Linked DNA regions of Homo sapiens: region 2 is linked to region 1. The links are contacts of gene promoters, found by promoter capture Hi-C in blood cells and fetal thymus (Javierre and others, 2016). All regions are on one chromosome and are shown on one strand. The core of a region is centred on a gene start or on the middle of the fragment in contact, and the rest is flanking DNA. Distances in the headings are between cores, read along the strand shown.

The links. The method cuts DNA at HindIII sites, captures the fragments that hold promoters and counts their contacts. A CHiCAGO score of 5 or more calls a contact.
Region 2: a contact is called between a fragment that was not itself captured here and the fragment with the promoter of TFE3 in region 1, in 1 of 17 cell types (activated CD4 T cells). The highest score is 5.1, in activated CD4 T cells.

What each region holds. Positions count from the first base shown.
Region 1 is chrX:49,041,948-49,044,647 of GRCh38, reverse strand. It overlaps TFE3 (transcription factor binding to IGHM enhancer 3), which reads left to right and starts at 1,291. Exons shown (of 10, transcript NM_006521.6): 1 at 1,291-1,537. The coding sequence starts at 1,422. RefSeq lists a silencer at 1,321-1,560 and an enhancer at 1,102-1,965. The HindIII fragment of the contact is 3,845 bases long and covers 782-2,700 here.
Region 2 is chrX:48,809,695-48,812,394 of GRCh38, reverse strand. All of the region lies in intron 10 of HDAC6 (histone deacetylase 6), which reads right to left. Among named protein-coding and RNA genes, the nearest start is that of HDAC6, 9.0 kb to the right of the region's middle. The HindIII fragment of the contact is 7,978 bases long and covers 1-2,700 here.

The sequences.
Region 1 (2,700 bases), core at 42-2,541:
AAAGCAACTGACAGACCTGTGAAATAATGATGCCAATACAGGAAGGTCCAAGGTAAATGAAAGCCCGGTGAAATTCCTGGAGGCGCAACTCAGGGTGGGGTCTTGGGATGTCAGGAAAGAGGAAGGGAAGGCTGTAGGTCTGGGTGTTTTGTGAGCTATTTGCACCTGAGGATATATGAGTGAGACCCTCCGCCTTGTGCGAGCCGGCTTGCATGCGTCTGGCATACAGAAGCGCTCAGTGAATGTTGAATAAGTGAACAAATGAGTGAATCAACTAATTTTGGGAAGCTTCTTGTATGCCAAACAACCTGCTAGCACTTTTCATACATTATCTTTAATCCTCAGAACAACCCTGCCAGACAGGTATTTTGACCCCCATTTAACAGGCCAGGAAAGCTGAGGCTGGGAGAGGGGAGGTCCCCTTCCCTATTCAAACCTGGATCTTTGTGATTCCAGAAGTCGTCATTCACCGAAGGGACCAGATTCATTCACCCGTCAAGAATTTATTAAGCACATATTGCGCAGCGCAATGAACATAGTACAACCGCTCTCGATGGCATGGAACAGGCGGAATACTCCCGGAAGACCAGCTGGGCGGCTGGACTGCGGACAGCGAAAGGGGGGGGTTTCTGGCCCGCACCTTCAGGGAATGTAGCTGCCTCTGCCTCATAGTTATGGCTTTGGCTGAGAGAGCACAGCCAGATCGAGGTTGGAGCGCGGTCTAGGGCTCAGATATTACAAATATTGGCCGAAAGAGGGCGCGGTTCCGCAGCTAAAAGCTTGGCCAGGAGACCCTCCGTGCGCCGACTGGCCATCGATGCGCAGGCGCAGAGGACCCAAGGAGCGGCTTAATATTACCTTGCAGAGGGATAATTTGAGAAGAGAGGGCGTGGCTCCGAAAGCGACGCAAACATAGAGGCGTGGTTCAACCAAATCAACCCTCGCCTATTTGTCGCTGCCCCTGAGGGCGTGGTCTGGGTGCTGCTTCTCGGAATGAGGGCGGGCCGAATCGCGTTTTTCCTCCGCGTCGGAGGCGTCGCTTAGGGTGGGCCCTCGAATCGCCGTTCAGCGATTGGCCGCCTCGCTAATGGGTCGTGGCCAGACGGGCCATCCATCCCCAGTGCGGTCACTTCCTGTGGAGTTTCCCCATCCCTGGGAGGAGGGAGGAGGGGGAAGAAGACGAGGGGGAGGAGGGCGGTCGTCCGGGGTTAGGTTGAGGGGGGGCGTCGGTCCGTTCTGGGCGGGGGATGACTCACAGCCCATCCCATCTCCCCGACGCCGCCCGCCCGCGCAGTGCTAGCTCCATGGCTTAGCGGAGGAGGCGGCGGTGGCGAGCTGGGGGGAGGGGGGACTCTTATTTTGTTAGGGGGACCGGGCCGAGGCCCGACCGGCCTGGCAGGGCTCGCCCGGGGCCGGGCGTCATGTCTCATGCGGCCGAACCAGCTCGGGATGGCGTAGAGGCCAGCGCGGAGGGCCCTCGAGCCGTGTTCGTGCTGTTGGAGGAGCGCAGGCCGGCCGACTCGGCTCAGCTGCTCAGGTGCGGGGCCGCCTGGGGCTGGGAGTGCCGACTGGGGCTCCCAGGGGCCTGATCTCGGGGGCAGTGGGGGCCCCGGACTGGGATTGGAGGCCCTCGGCCTAGCCTTGGAGGACGTCGGGGCGCCCGTCTTGGGGGGGCACCTAAGGAATCCGGCAGTGGCCTGCTTGGATTGTGGCTTTATTAAAGGAGTCGTGGGAGTGCATTAAGCGGGGTCTGGGTCAGGTTTGGGGAGCCCTTGACTGCGTCTAGAGGGGCCTATTCTGGAGTATCCAGAAACTGGTCTGAGATAGCTGAACTTGGTAGACAGGGTCTCTGATTAGAGGCTGAATTCGGGGATTTTCAGTCGGACATGAGGGGAATGAATTTGAGGGGACACTGTCAGGTGAGGCACTGGTTTTAAGGGAATCCTAGAATCTTTTTTCCCTCAGTGTGGGAGAAGGGGTCCTGAGGGACAGAAGTGCTGTCTTGGGAGCTTGGTGCCTCTCAGTGACTGGTTGCTGTGTTTGGGGATAACATGAATCTGGAGGGATTTGGAGGTATCTCAGATATGCTGCCTGGGACCAGCCTTGTGAGTGCGTGTGAATGAACAAGAGAAGCAACATTCAGCAAGACTTGACCAGAATAATCCTTTCCCCTCTGCCCGCCTACCCAGCTGGGGCAGATCCCAAGGATAGTGGAAAAGCCCTCTTCCCACACCTGTTAAGGGCCTGAATGGAAGATAGACAGCCAGGCAGAGGGCGATGATGTTACCTCTTAGCTCAGAGGCCTCAGACCTTGTTTGGGAACCCAGAGGAGGCTCTTGTTCATGCTGCTACTCGCTCTAGCCTCTCAGCCCTTCCCACTCCCTAGCCCCACACCCCTTTTCTTTTTATCTTCTTTTCGATCTCCGAGCTCCTGGGGGTAATCTTGAATCTGTCCATAGAGCTGGAACGAGTACAGATTGCACCATCCCTGCCTGGGTGGATCCCCTCTGGCCTCTTCTCATCCTTACTTTCATCAATGGGCTTTGGAGCCCCAGCCCTCCCTGCTCACCCCAGTGCCCATCTCTTCCAACTTCTGTGCAATGGGTGTGTGAGCCCTGGGTGGGGGGGGGTCTTTGCCTCCTTTGTGCCTGGGATTGTGCTGAGCTCAGTGGCTCGCCCGAGCTTCCTCTTCCCAACTTC
Region 2 (2,700 bases), core at 28-2,527, 230 kb after region 1:
TTTAGATCATCTGCTTTCCTTGTCTTCACAACAGTATTTTAAGGATTATCCAGTTTGTCTCCCTGCTGCTGGAGTTCAGAGACTGAGAGATGGGGAGCTGGGAGATCCAAGGGCATGGACATGTTCTTTTTGTTTGTTTGTTTACACACGTTTGTTAATAAGGAAGAATGCACTGAATATATTCACAGTGTTTCACATCTGTGTGTGTAATCAATAGTGTACCCATGAAAGAACACACAGCTATAGCCTCCTATGCATTTATTCAAACAAAAAGAATGATTAATGATATTAAAGAATTCTTTGAATGACAGACCCTTGGCAGATTAAAAAAATAATTATTGTTAATTTTCAGGTATTGATACTAAGGTAATGCTTTTCTAAAAAAGTGTACTTATGTTTTAGAGATGCATTCTGAAATATTTACAGGAGAAATTATATGGTATCTGGGATTAGCTTTGAAGGAAAACAGGAAGAGGGCAGTGGGTACAGGTATAGATGAAATGAGATCGGCCAATGAGTTGATAAATGTTGAAGCATTAAATTCCAGAAGCCAGAAATGAACAAAATAAAGAACGTCGGAGGAAAACATTAATAAAGATAAAACCAGAAAAATTAATGAAGTATTAAAAACCCACCATAATAAAACAGTAGAGATGACCAACAAAGCCCAAAGCTACACTGGAAAAGATAAGTACAACAGATACACTTTGGAAAGGCTGAGGGAAAAAAGAGATGTTACCCCAAAGAAGAGGCCTCCTTTGTTCTGACATCTGGCAGGATCCCATCTAATGCCCGGGTCCTTGCCCACACTCGCTAAAGTTGCAACCTGTCAGTGGACATTCCCTGTCCCCATTCTGGGGAAATGCCTTTCAGGAAAACAGACCTACAAACACTGCAGCAGAGTAGTCCTCTGACAGCCCCCTACAATGGGCCTTCATTCTTGGGTATAAATAGCCAAATAAGGATTGCTAGACATTTGAGGAAAACCATCAGCATAAAAGAGAAGGACCAAGAAAAAAATAATTCAACCAGCCTCAGAATAAAGAGACATAACTCAGACAACAGAAGAAACTTAAGGCACTTCCTTTTTTGAGACAGGGTCTCCCTCTATCGCCCAGGCTGGAGTGCAGTGGCATGATCTTGTCTCACTGCAACCTCCGCCTCCTGGGTTCAAGCGATTCTCCTGCCTCAGCCTCCTGAGTAGCTGGGATTACAGGTGCGCACCATCACGTCTGGGTAATTTTTGTATTTTTAGTAGAGATGGGGTTTCACCATGTTGGCCAGACTGGTCTCGAACTCCTGGCCTCAAGTGATCCACTCACCTCGGCCTCCCAAAGTGCTGGGATTACAGGCATGAGCCACCGCACCCAGCCGGCACTTCTAATCCATACTCTATAAAAACAAGATCAGGTATGAGAGGACATAGAAACAGAGAGGAAGAAAGAGCTTTTGGAGTTTAACAGGATATCTAAATACATAATTCAACAGAAGGGCTTGAAGATAAAGTTGACAAAATCTCCCAGGTCACAGCAAAAGAAAAAAGAGACAGAAAACATAAGATAAAAAATAAGAAGCCTGGGCAACATGGTGAGACCCCATCTCTACAAAAGATTAAAAAATTAGCTGGGTATGCTGGTGTGCACCTGTGGTCCCAGCTACTCAGGAGGCTGAGGCATGAGGATTGCTTGAGCCCGGGAGGTCGAGGCTGCAGTGAGTCGTATTTGTGCCACTGTACTCCAGTCTGGGCAACAGAGCAAGACCTTGTCTCAAAAAAAATAAATAAATAAATAAATAAATAAATAATAAAAAAGAGAGAGACATAGAGGATCAACCCAGGAAGTCTAACATCTGACTAACAGAAGTCCTAGAAAGAGAACAGAGAAAACAAAGAAGAAATTATCAAAGATCTAATAGAAAATAATTTCCAAGAGTTTAAGAAAAGCATGAATCTTCAGATGTAAAATGTCTACCTACTATTAAACAGAGTGAAAAGGCCAGGGTAAAAGTTTAGAACATCAAGGCTAGGTACAGTGGCTCATGCCTGTAATCTCAGTGCTTTGAGAGGCTGCAGTGGGAGGACACTTGAGGTCAGGAGTTCGAGACCAGTCTGGGCAATATAGTGAGACCCTGTCTCTACAAATAATTTAAAAAATTAGCTGGGTGTGGTGGCACATGCCTGCAGTCCTAGCTACTTGGGAGGCTGAGGCAGGAGGATTGCTTGAGCCCAGGAGTTTGAGGTTACAGTGGGCTATGATCATGCTACTATACTCCAGCCTGGGTGACAGAGTGATACCCTGTCTAATAATTTAAAAAAAAAAAAAAAAGAACACCAAGATAACCTTGCAGAGAGGAAAGTAGATTACTTGGAAAGGAATGAAAAGCAGACACCTGTCAGGAACACTGAATGCTGCAAAATAATAAAGCAATGTCTAGAGAACAACCAACCTAAATTGGATTCTTCAGATCTTGGATAAGTGGATTCTCTGTAGTCAGCTAGGAAGAAGGCTAGATAAAACTACTACAGGTTGAGCATCCCTAATCTAGAAATCTGAAATCTGAAATGCTGTAAAATCCTAAACTTTTTTTTTTTTTTTAGATGGGGTCTCAGTCTATCACCCAGGCTGGAGTGCAGTGGTGCGATCTCAGCTCACTGCAACCTCTGCCTCCTGGGTTCAAGTGATTCTCCTGCCTCAGCCTCCT